2 separate regions of the Homo sapiens genome follow, and region 2 is linked to region 1. Evidence: promoter capture Hi-C in human tissues and cell types (Jung and others, 2019). All regions are on one chromosome and are shown on one strand. The core of a region is centred on a gene start or on the middle of the fragment in contact, and the rest is flanking DNA. Distances in the headings are between cores, read along the strand shown.

Region 1 (6,806 bases), core at 1,696-4,195:
GATAGCGCCATTGCACTCTGGCCTGGTGACAGAGCAAGACTCCATAACAAAACAAATTATAAAATAAATAAATAAAGATAAACAAGAGCCACTTAGTGCAGGGAACACAACTTGTATATTTATTATGTTTCTATGGGGATCACAACAAGGCAGGCACAGCTTAGTACAAATCGGTGACCCGTCTCAAAGAGCCGACTTTGGCATCTGCACCCCCCCAGTCGTGGTACCTTCTGTAGTCCCCAGGCCTCAGCAGATACTGCCGCCCCCGGTAGTTGGGCATTTCATAGAGGACCCAGCAGCCCTCCAGTACGTGGAGGGAATAGATCTCAGGGAGACGGAACAGTTCTGGAACACAGGCGCAGTCATCAGTGAGCTCAGACATAAGGCCTCGGTAGTCATCTCTCTCGTACAGCCTTAACTTGTGCGAGCTGGTCTGTCATGGCAATAAACAAAAGAACAAAAATAAACAGCATGCATCCTTGGGTGTCAACGAAAGTGACACAATCAGTCTGCATCTTCATGAAGCATGGCTTTTATTTTATTTTTGAGATAAAGGTCTTGCTGTGTTGCCCAGGCTGGAGTACAGTGGCAGGATCACTGCTCACTGCAACTTTCACCTCCTGGGCTTAAGTAATCCTCCCACCTCAGCCCCCCAAGTAGCTGGGATCACAGGTGTGCACTGTGACACCCGGCTAATTTATTTTTAAAAATTTTTTTGTAGAGAGGGAGTCTCACTATATTGCCCAGGCTGGTCTTGAATCCCTGGGTTCAAGTGATTCTCTCACCTTGGCCTCCCAAAATGTTGGGATTACAAATGTTGGGATTGCACCTGGTTTGAAACATGGTTTTTTAAACCAGTTGATAAAGTGTTTCTCCCCTGAACCCACTTTCAATGTTGTTATTCTAACAAATTAGGGAAAATATTAAAACGAATCTGACCTGATCAATGAACTGGAGATGTTGTGGAAGAAACAAACATTAAAATACAGGGAATAAAAGTGTGTTCTTTGTAAGCAATCATCAATACAATTGTAGTCAGTGAGTCTGTAGTGAGGATTTCAACTCTCATTTCCATTTTGACTCCATATAATTGAGTCTTATCAAGCTTGTTTTTGAGTCACTTTTTGCACTTATAATTTACAGTGATTTATATTTACACTGAGTCCACATGTATTTTCAAGTGACATTTTGCCAAGTCACTTGTGCCATTTGGGTTTCTTGCCCCAGAGAAATGCCTATTTTATTTATACCTCTTTGCGCATCTGCAAATTTTTCTGGCCTAAATTTGTTTTTTTATTTTTTTATTTTTTTTTAGACGAAGTCTCGCTCTGTCACCAGGCTGGAGTGCAGTGGCATGATCTCGGCTCACTGCAACCTCCGACTCCTGGGTTCAAGCAATTCTCCTGTCTTAGCCTCCTGCTTAGCTAGGACTACAGGCATGCACCACCATGCCTGGCTAATGTTTTGTATTTTGGTAGAGACAGGGTTTCACCATGTTGGCCAAGCTGGTCTTGAACTCCTGACCTCAAGTGATCTGCCCAGCTCAGCCTCCCAAAGTGCTAGGATTACGGGCGTGAGCCACTGAGCCTGGCCGTGATTTCAATTCTTGAATCTCCTTGTCACACTACATAATTTGGTGCCAACAGAAAGTGTAAATACATGCTGCACGTGATTAAAAAAGATTAAGCAGCATTTTGATGAGGACCATGTTCTATGAAATCCTAATCAATTGTGTGTCTCTGATATTTATAAGAAACTAGTTGATAATGACTCCTGGAAATTATAAATCCACACAAGTTGAAACATATTTTCCTAGGTTCTAGTAAGTCCTAGAATGTAGTGAAAAAAATTTCCAATGCAGTCAGAATACATTATACCTATATTGTTATCTCATAGTCTGTTAACTTTTCATCATTAAAAAATAATTATCATGGCCGGGCGCAGTGGCTCATTCCTATAATCCTAGCACTTTGGGAGGCCGAGGTCGGGAGTTCGAGACCAGCCTGACCAACATGGAGAAACTCTGTCTCTACTAAAAATACAAAATTAGCTGGGCATGGTGGCACATGCCTGTAATCCCAGCTACAAGGGAGGCTGAGGCGGGAGAATCGCTTGAACCTGGGAGGCAGGGGTTGTGGTGAGCTGAGATTGTGCCATTGCACTCCAGCCTAGGCAACAAGAGCGAAAGCGAAGTTCTGTCTCAAAAAAAAAAATTATCTAGATAAACTAGATAGACTTTTCTTTTTTTTCTTTCTTTCTTTTTTTTTTTTTTTACTACTGAATAAGGTGACTTTTATGTAGAAATTAGGGATCACCTAGATGTTACCAAGTTTAATTTAAAGGCTATGTTGTGATTTCCCATGCCCTAAAATGATGTCCTTAAGTAAGAAAAATAGAGATTATTGTTACTTTTTTTTTTTATATATGTTTGAGGGTCAGGCCTTGCTATTCTTACTGTGAACACTCATCCTGTGTTGGAACAAACTGACTTTTATAAACAGGAATTGATGGCCATGGATCATTGATGCTTTCACATCAGTCAAGTTGAAGCAAGACTCACATGAGGAATTATACGGCAGGATTGGACCGAGTCGCTGAGGCCCATCCAGTGCTGATAGTCGGGGTACTTGCCTCGGCGCAGGAAGTACTGGTGGCCCTGGTAATTGGGACGCTCATAGAGCATCCAGCAGCCGCTGTCTACTCGGATGGAGTTGCAGCGGCTGAAGTAGACCCGCAGGTTGGGGCAGTCACTGATGCAATTGTAGCAGCGACCCTGAAAGTCTCGGTCCTCGTAGAAGGTGATCTGAGGTAGAAATAAGGTGACAGTAGACAGTCAGCTGGAAGGAACATCCCCACACACCACAGACCCCCAATAGACATGGCACAGCACCTCCACAGGCTCACCTTCCCCATGGTTGTTGACAGAGGGTGATTAGCATCTAGTATGATAGGGACAAAGGGGCAACTGGTATATATAGCAGGGAAGCTGCTGTGTTGGCAAAAACAACACAAAAGGGACCTGGGGGTGGTGCGTAGGGGGATTTCTGTATTCTCTTTTTTTTTTCATTTGAGATCATGGGGCAGTGGGCTCTCTCTCTTTCTGGCATTTTCGAGTTGTCCTCACTAGCTCCAGTGAAAGGTATTAAAGTCAGCAGAGCCATTATGACCTTGGAGACAAAGGGCACACTTCTCATCCTATGCAGCTCACTAGAAATGCATTACATGCCCAGCATTCTGCAATGTTTGCCTATGGAAACTGCTGAGATGGAGGTTGGTGGTTCCATCTGAGGTCACTTATGAGAACACATGCGTTCCAGAAGGACTTGAAGTGTGAAGAGGCAACAAAAAAAATCCCAGACAGAAAATCCTCTAATTGAAAGACAATTATATTTCTTAAGTGACTTCATCAGTATGATAGGGTTTTGATAAAAATATTTTGCCTATATTTATGTAGGGAAAACATAAGATTAGAAGTGTGTACTATACCAACATATCAATCATGGTAATCAATGAATGGCAAGATTATAGATCTTAGCTTTATGTTGTTATATTTTGTTTTTTGCTGCTGTTTTCTTAATTTTCTATTATATCTGCCATCTTCAGCCAGACAGAAAAAAAAATTCGATTATAAATATAACAATTTCATGAGATGAAAAAATAATAAAATCAATCTTTAAATGTATGACTTTGAGGTGCTGGTGAAAAGCAGTAAATACTGGAAGCAGGTATATTTAATCAAGAGATTAAACACTTCTTGAGCTAAAAATAAAAAGAAACCCTGAGAATCTGTGAGAGGCTCGAAGAGCAGAAAAATACACAGGAACATTTCACTCCCCTCCCCCTGCCACCCTCCTTCTAGCATTGCTTTTATTTTTTAAAATTAGCGTGATGATTTGCCTGTGTTTTTCCTTTCAATAGTATCACTGTTTCATTGAACCCAAGTGACTGCCTAACAGCCTTCTCCATTGCTGCCAACTTATTGATTTAGAAGTACTCCTCAGATGTGCAAGTGTGGAGGAAGACTCCAAACCCCAGACTGTCTTTTGTCATTCCACATGTATGTAGGAAGATGAAATCAAACACCTTTGTGCTTTAGACCCACCGAGGGATTCTAAAAGAGTATTTGACCACAGCTAGCAACACATTCACAATGTCATTTGTGAAAATCCTCAGGCAGCATGTAAGGCAAACGCGCAGGTGGTAAAAGGAGAGACAGCAGTAGCTACCGAGAAAAAAATGTTTCCTCATAACTAGCAGAGCTAGGCAAAAGAAAACTGGGTGAAGTCCTATGAAGCTAAACACCTAGCAGTGCATGCAGGGACCGCAAGTTGCTGATTCCCTCCTTTGCCTCCCCCTAATTAGCTGCAGGCTTACTGGTAAATCTTAGAACCATAATCAAACCCAGTGTGGAAAACGCTGCATTGGTCTCCCAGCCCCACATGAGAATATACCACCATTTTCAGAAAAAGTCTACAATCTCCATCTGTGTTTTTGTACATGCTGATGAAAACTGTTCTGTAGACAGATGGCACACCAAAACCTTAAGAAATGTATTATGTGTACTGACATTCATGTGATCAAGTTGTTATTACATACATTGATAGGCTAAGCCATGTGCCTAATCAGCATTTTGGAAAGGTACTAAAAGACCAGAACATCTTCCCTCCTAGTAGTCATTATAGTCTACTGAGAGAAAGCCTGTATTCATTTTTTTAATGCTTTATTGAAATGATTTAAACATTCTTTTCATATGAGAACACAGTAAAGGCAATCAATGACAGATTAATTTTATTTTGGATTAACTCTTTGGAAATCTGCCTCCCACTCCATCACTGTGCAATATTCAATGCCACACATTTGTAAAATGTGCTACAAAGCCAGCTTGCTCTAACACAGAAATACTATATACTTTCTGAATTCTCCAGCAGTCTTCCAGTCACAATGAAGTAGCATAAGGTCACAGTTTTTTTTTTTAAGAAAATGTAGCCATGCAATATGCTTCTAAAAGAAGAAAGCTCAACATCAAAAATAACACTTCAGTGCAGTTGTACCAAAAACAGTTGTAAAGAAAAATGTACTGGCAAGAGCTGTGGTTTTAAGATGATGCTTCTCGTCTGCTCCCAGAGAATCTATTATGAAGTTCCATGGTACAATTCCAATTTTCTAAGTGACCTGCAGAATAAAAGATGATTTTGGTATCAAGCACATCAATTTAACATGGACACAGACATTACTTTAAGTCTATAGGAAGTTAAGGTCAAATATCAGATACTAACTTACTGACAAAGATAGATTAGATTAATGTAATTACAAAGGAATTTTCATGGAATTATTCTGATATATTTGGAAATTGAGTTATATTTCCCAACTAAATGCAATATGTGATCCCATACTGGATCTTATACAGAAGGAAAAAAATGCTTAAAAAGAACATTATTGGGTCAATTGACAAAATTGGTGTATAGAGAGTACATTAAATAAAAGTACCAATAATAGATATTCTGAAGTTGATAACTATTCTATGGTTATTTAAGAGAATTACTTTGTTCTTAAGAAATACACACAGAGGTACATAGAGTAAAGTGGTAGAGTATATATACATAACTTCTAATGGCTCAGAAAAAAATTATATATCTTTATCTATATACAGAGAGACAAAGACAGAATATAATAAAGCTAACAGAACAAAACATTAACCATTCGTGACTGTATAAAAGGAATACGTGGGTTCTTTGTATATTATTCTTGCAAATTTTCTCTAAGTTTGAAATTATTTTTACATTAAAAAGTTATACTTCTCTTAACCAATCCTACCCAAAGCAAATCAGTTTTTGGCCTTTTAGCAGTTATGTATTATGCTTGTAGGATATTATTTTGAATTTCTGATGTATTGCTTTGGATTTAAATTTAAATTGTCCTCTCTCTATGTCTCATTTCCTTTCATGATAGCATGAATTTCTCATGAGTGGTGATGAAGAGAGCGATTATATTATTGCTTGCCACTGTCCTGACACTTTTTTTTTTTGAGACGGTGTCTCACTCTGTCACCCAGGCTGGAGTGCATGCAGTGGCGGGATCTCGGCTCACTGCAAGCTCCGCCTCCTGGGTTCATGCCATTCTCCTGCCTCAGCCTCCAAGTAGCTGGGACTACAGGCGCCACCACGCCCAACTAATTTTTTCTATTTTTTAGTAGAGATGGGGTTTCACCATGTTAGCCAGGATGGTCTTGATCTCCTGACCTCGTGATCCGCCCGCCTCGGCTTCCCAAAGTGCTGGGATTACAGGCGTGAGCCACCATGCCTGGCCTGTCCTGACACTTTTCTAAGCCTTTACACATATAACTTATTTAATGCTTATAACAACCCTATGAGGTAGGTACTATTATGACTTTTTAAAGAGATGAAAAACTAAAAGCACAGAGAGATTAGGTAACTCACTCAAGTTATTAAGTGGGTAGCCTGGATTCAAGAAGTATGCTGTATTCTAGCTCTTTAGTATGGTCGTGTTCATTCCAAATTTACTTCCTAGTAATGTGCCCACTACTGACGCTTTCCTAGGACAATGCAATTTAAAAAAAAAATCTTTAAAACTGTTTCCTAGCCGGGCGCGGTGGCTCATGCCTGTAATTCCAGCACTTTGGGAGGCTGAGGTGGGTGGATCACGAGGTCAGGAGTTCAAGACCAGGCTGACCAACATGGTGAAACCTCATCTTTACTAAAAATACAAAAATTAGCCAGGTGTGGTGGTGCACACCTGTAATCCCAGCTACTCAGGAGACTGAGACAGGAGAATCGCTTAAACCCGGG
Region 2 (6,806 bases), core at 3,152-5,651, 1.0 Mb after region 1:
ACATGTCATACAAAGAATCTTCTCTGACCACAAGGAGACGAGGTTAGATATTGCTAACAGAAGGAAAAATAGAAAATTCTAATCTTTTAAACTACAAAACACCCTATCAATCACCAATAAATTACCAAACAAAACACAACATAAATTCTATGGTTTGAATGTATCTCCCCAAGTTCATATGTTGAAAACGTAATCCAATGCAACAGTGTTGAGAGGGGGGACTTTTAAGACGTGGTTATTGCTATTATTACAGGAGTGGTTTCTTTATTGTGAGAGTGGGTTATTTTAAAAAGAATGAATTTGGCCCACTTTTCTCTGTGTCTGTCTTGCCCATGTGATGCCTTCAACCATGTTATGACACAGCAAGAACCTCACCAGATGTCAGCTCCTCAATCCTGGAATTCTCAGTCCCCAGAATTTTAAGCCAATAAATTTTTGTTCATTATAAATTACTCAGTCTGTGGCTTTCTGTTATAGCAACACAAAACAAACTAAGACAGTATATTGTAAAATACTTAGAGGTGAATGAAAATGAAAACACAATATACCAAAACCTATGAGACACAGCGAAAGCAGTGCTATAAGGAAAATCTATAGCTAAAACTGCTTACATTTTAAAAACAGAAATATCTCAAATCAGCAACCTAATTTTACAAATTAAGGATCTAGGGGAAAAAAGAACAAACTAAACTCAAAGCTAGCAGAAGAAAATAAATAATCAAGATTAAAGCAGAGACAAACAAAATAGAGAAATAAAAGACAATAGAGAAAATAAAGAAAAATAAAAGTTGGATCTTTGAAAAAGATCAACAAAATTGACAAACGTTTAGCTAGACTAATAAAACAAAGACTCAAATTACAAAAATCAGAAATAAAAGTGGAAACATTACTTCTGATTCTCAAGAAAGAGATAGACTATAAAAGTACCATGAACAACCATATACCAACAAAGTAGATAGCCTAAATAAAATGGGCAAATTCCTAGAAATAAAAAAAACCTACAAAGACTAAATCATGATGAAATAAGAAAGCTGAATAGACCTGTTATACTGGTTATCAAAATCTCCCAAAAAAGAAAATCCCTGAACCTGATGGCTTCAATAGTAAATTCAATCAAACATATAAACAGGTACAAACACCATCCTTTTCAAACTTTTCCAAAACATTGGAGAGAACAGAACACTTCATAAGTCATTTTATGAGTCCATCATTGCCCTGACACCAAAGCCAGACAAAAACAGTACAAGAAAATAAAACTGCAGACAAATATGCCTTGTGAATATTGATGCAAAAATCCTCAACAAAATATTAGCTATCTGAATCCATCAGTATATTAAAAAAATTATATATCATGACCAAACAGAATCCATTCCTGATATGCAAGGATGATTTACCATACAAAAATCCATCAGTATAATACACCACGGTAACAGAATGGAGGAAGAAAACATGTCATCATCTCAACTAACGCAGAAATAACATTTGATAAAATCCCACACCTTGTTATGATAAAGACACACAACAAACTACATCAACATAATAAAAACCATACATGAAAAACTCACAGAGAACATCATACTCAATGGTGAAAGAATGAAAGCTTTTCTGGTAAGATCAAGAAGGCAACGATGCCTGTTTACACCACTTCTATTTAAAATACTACTAGAAGTCCTAGCCAAAACAATTAGGCAACAAAAGGAAATAAAACACATCTAAACTAGAATGGAAGAATTAAAATTGTGTTTGTTCACAAATTATATAATCTTATACATAGAAAACCCTAAAGACTCTACAAAAAACTATTAGAACTACTAAGCAAATTTAGCAAAGTAGCAGGATACAAAGTGAACACAAGAATTAGTTTCATTTCTGTATACTAACAATGAGCAATCTAAAAAGGAAATTATTAAAACAATTCCATTTATAATAGCATCAAAAGGAATAAAAAGTCAGGAATTAACCAAAGAAGTAAAGACGTGGACAATAAAAACTAAAAAACATTGCTGAAAAAAGTTGAAGAAGACATAAATAAAAGGACACCTCATGTTCATGGGATGGAGGACTTAATCTTGTTAAAATATCAATACTAGCCCCCCAAAAACCTACAAATTCAATGCAATTCCTATGAAAATCCCAATGATGTTTTTCACAGAAATAAAAAATCCATCCTTAAATTTATATGTAATCTGAAAGATCTATGAATAGCCAAAACAACCATGAAAAAAGAAAGAGCAAATTTGGAGAACCCACACTTCCTGATTTCAAAACTTACTACAAGGCTCCAGTAATCAAAACAATGTAGTACTGGCATCAAGACAGATATACAGAACACTGGAATATAATAATGAGCCCAGAAATAAACCCTTGTATATATTGCCAAGAAGAGTGTCAAGACCTTTCAATGAGAAAAGGACAGTCTGATGGTGCTGGGAAAACTGGATATCTACATGCAAAAAAATGAAGGTGGATGTTTACCTAACACCATATACAAAATTTAACTTAAAATGAATTATAGACTTAAATCTAAGAATGAAAACTATAAAACACTCAGAAAGAAACACAGGGCAAAAGTTATATGACATTGGATTCAGCAATGATTTCTTCAATATGACACTAAAGGCACAGGCAACAGAAGAAAAAATAAGACAAATTGGACTTTGTGAAAATTAAAGACTTTTATGCATCAAAGGGCATTATCAATAGAGTGAAAAGGCAACTGAAAGAATGGGATCAACTATTTGCAAATCATATATATGACAAGGAATTAATAGCCGTATATATAAAGAACTTCTAAAACTCAGTGACAACAAAAGCCACCTGATGCAAAAGATATACACATGCCCAATAAGTACATGTAAAGGTGATTAACATCACTAATCATTACGGTAATGCAAACAAAAACTGCAATGAAACACTACCTCACACTCATTAGGATGGCTACTATCAAAAAACAGAAGATAACTGTTGGCAAAATGTAAAGGACTTGAAACCCTGATGCGCCATAGTGGGAATGTAAATGGTGGTGCTGCTGTCGAAAACAGTATGGCAGTTTCTCAATAAATTATAAATAGAACCACCATTTGATCTAGCAATTCAACTTATGGGTATATACTCAAAAGAATTGAAAGCAGGGTCTCAAAGAGACATTTGCACACTCATGTTCATGTTTAGCATTACTCACAATAGCTAAAATGTGGAAGCAACCCAAGTATTCAGGGGTAGATGGAAGAATAAGCAAAATGTAGTATGGATATGAAATGGAATACTATACAGCCTTAAAAAGGAAGGATACTCTGACATATTCTACAGCATGAATGAACCTTCCAGGTATTATGCTAAGTGAAACAAACTAGTCACAAAAAGACAAATACTGCATGATTCTACTTACTTAGTACTTAGAATAGTCAAAATCATAGAACCAAAAAGTAGAATGGTGGTTTCCAGGGTCTGGAGGAAGAGGAGAATGAGGAGTTGTTATGTAATGGGCAAAAAATCTCAATTTTGGAAGAAGAAAAATATTCTGGAGATGAATGATGGTGATAGTTGCACAGCAATATGTATGTTCTTATCCCACTAATCTATACACTTGAAAATGGTTAAAATGTTAAATATTATGCTAGGCTTATTTTATGACAATTTTTAAAATTTCATAGGTTATAAAAATGCCAATTATAATAGCAATAATAACCTCAAATAAGACTATACATATTTTTTAGTGTTTATAATTATGAAGTCAGGATCTGAAGTCAGATTGTTTGAGTTCAAATACTGGCTCTATTACATATTGGTGTAGAGAATTTTGGCAAATTCAGTAACCTCTGGGCTTCAGATTCTTTCTCCGTAAAATGTAGATGATAATACTACTTACCTCATAGTGCTGTTACGAGGCGTAAGTGAATTTAAAAATGTAGATGATAATACTACTTACCTAATAGTACTGTCATGAGGCATAAGTGAATTTAAAAATGTAGATGATAATACTGCTTACCTCACAGTGCTGTTATGAGGCGTAAGTGAATTATTATTTGCAAATCTTTTTGAATAGTGCCTGGAGCATAGCCTGCCCTCAATAAAGTTGGCTCCAGTTTATATTATTGCCTTCTGAACATTTACACTCCATATACTGGAAGAACATTTTTGGATATGTACATTGGCTCCCCTCACCTCCTTTGTTTGAAACACTCCAAAGTCTTGTTGCTTTTAGATAAAAAAATCAAACATGTTTAAGTGGCCTACAGGGCCTCAAATTCTGGCCCCATACCCTTCCCTTCAGCCTCATTTTGCACCAGGTTCCCTATGGCTCTTAGGGCTTCTACAACACTCACCTTACAGATCTTTTTATCTCTATTCTCCCTACTGCCATAGGATATTTGTACATGCTTCTGCCTGAAGTGTTCTACTTCCCTCTCTTCCAGCTCATTCTTACGCTTCCCTAGCTTATTAACACTTCTAGGAAGCAGCTCCTTCGGGACTTTATTATTATGTTAATACCCTATTATTTTAAAGCTTCAATATTACCATGTTTTTTCAAAATGAAAATTCCAGGAAGAGTGGTTCTGAGTGGCTTACCTTGAGTCATATTCTCATTTTCAGGGAAGGGAAAGAGAAGGCACTTTGTTTGACAGATCCGCCAAGACCCTATCCATGGAATCAGAGTAGATGCCCAAAACTAAATCGGGGGACATCCTAGGGTAATAATGGCTGGACAGGAAAAACACAGATTCTCAGTACAGGTAACATTTGGTTAAGGTCAGTCTCACACACTAGCCTAAAACTCCATGAGAAGAGAGGCTATGTCTGCTTTGGCTAACCACTTTATCCTCAGCACCCAGAACAATGCTTGAAATGTAGTTACTCTAATAAGTATTAACGGTTGTGGAAGGTTGTTATACTAGGCATTGGAGACATAATCTGGAACAAAACAGATTTGGTCCCAACCTTCTTGGAGCTCAGAATAAGAAGGCAGACGAGATGGCCTTTAGAATATCTTCTTCAAAATGAGATTTTATCAACCTATTTTTCACTGAAAATGTGTTATATATGCATTCTGAAGATGGTCTTGAGCTTTGGAAGGTAATGTTTAAATTCTTGAGGCTTTGCCGCTTTTAAACTTACAACTTTTTTTGAAGAAAGCAAATTTCCATTCAAATTTTTAATAATATTTTAAAATTATTTTTTACGATGCCCAGAAATTTTGAAAATAATTGTTATTTTAAATTTACAATATTTTCTTTGTTGAAATTCAGAAGACTGATTTTAAAATGCTCTGGTTTAGGCTTTCATTTTAGATCAAAGTACCCCATCAACTAGCAATTTTTGGAGGAAGGGAATCCTCATAAACCAGCATTCATGAAAGGAAAGGTACTGATTTTATGGGACAGCAAATATAAATGCTTATTTTTATTTGAAGGTACATTTAAGCATAAATTAATAATAAAAACAATGTTATAAAACTATTATAAGTATTTTAATATTAGTTAATAGATATCTGTTGTTTTGAAAATTAGAAGACATAGGTAAAAAAGAACTTTACATGAGGAAAATCCTTTAGCCAGTTGTTTACCTACATCCTAGACCAAATTAAACTGCTGCATTGGCAAGGACAATTGAGTTCATTCATTCCACATACATATAGCAAAGCACTCTCTATGGGCACCATGGCAGAAGGTAGATGGATAAAGCCAAGATTATAGCCACCAGGTAACTTAAGAGATATAATACATTTTCAAGGATTTGTGACACAAGTAGTTATATGACAACTTCCGTGTGTGGTACCAAAGGCAATAGGCCTATAAACTTAATTCCTTTACTAATATTACCAATCTGGTGCGTAATGGTGCTGTACAAAGTACTTGGAGTTCATTTGTTAGACTTTTTTTTTTGTCTTGCAGGAAAAGTACCAGAGAGTTCTGTGAACATTCTTTCTATTTAAGATTTCTTCAGGCTTTCAGATATCTGTAGGCCATATCAGTCAATATAAAAAATGAACTGAAGTTTTGTGTACATGATGACCACAGGCTATTAAAAACTTATTTGTCTTGCAGATTTTACTCATCCAGGAAATGAACTGCCAGAATATGTGATGAGACTAGAAGTTACATTTAGGAACTATCAGGGGAAATTCAGCCAGATATCGGGTGAAATTCGCCCCCGATATTTCACGTAAGTTCTTTTCCATTTTCCCTAAGTGTTGGCCAGTCTGAGAAATAAAGGGACAGAGCACAAAAGAGAGAAATTTAAAAGCTGGGTGTCCGGGGGAGACATCACATGTCGGCAGGTTCCGTGATGCCCCCTGAGCCGTAAAACCAGCAAGTTTTTATCAGTGATTTTCAAAAGGGGAGGGAGTGTACGAATAGGGTGTGGGTCACAGAGATCACATGCTTCACAAGGTAATAGAATATCACAAGGCAAATGGAGGCAGGGCGAGATGACAGGACCACAGGACCGGGGCAAAATTAGAATTGCTAATGAAGTTTCGGGCATGCATTGTCATTGATAACATCTTATCAGGAGACAGGGTTTGAGAGCAGACAACCGATCTGACCAAAACTTATGAGGTGGGAATTTCCTCGTCCTAATAAGCCTGGGAGCGCTATGGGAGACTGGGGCTTATTTCATCCCTACAGCTGCAACCATAAAAGATGGCCGCCCACGAAGCAGCCATTTCAGAGGCCTACCCTCAGGGACGCATTCTCTTTCTCAGGGATGTTCCTTGCTGAGAAAAAGAATTCAGTGATATTTCTCCCATTTGCTTTTGAAAGAAGAGAAATATGGCTCTGTTCCACCCAGCTCACCGGCAGTCAGAG

What was found. The method cuts DNA at HindIII sites, captures the fragments that hold promoters and counts their contacts. A contact is called where the count stands out against the background at its distance.
Region 2: a fragment that was not itself captured here is called in contact with the fragment with the promoter of CRYGA in region 1 in 1 of the 25 tissues and cell types used here (stomach).

Annotation. Positions count from the first base shown.
Region 1 is chr2:208,160,644-208,167,449 of GRCh38, forward strand. It overlaps CRYGA (crystallin gamma A), which reads right to left and starts at 2,946. Exons shown (of 3, transcript NM_014617.4): 1 at 2,905-2,946; 2 at 2,561-2,803; 3 at 97-433. The coding sequence starts at 2,913. The coding sequence ends at 161. C2orf80 (chromosome 2 open reading frame 80) reads right to left here. Exons shown (of 9, transcript NM_001099334.3): 9 at 4,704-5,172. The coding sequence ends at 5,164. The HindIII fragment of the contact is 14,122 bases long and covers 1-6,806 here.
Region 2 is chr2:209,196,352-209,203,157 of GRCh38, forward strand. No RefSeq gene overlaps it. Among named protein-coding and RNA genes, the nearest start is that of MAP2, 220 kb to the right of the region's middle. The HindIII fragment of the contact is 7,431 bases long and covers 687-6,806 here.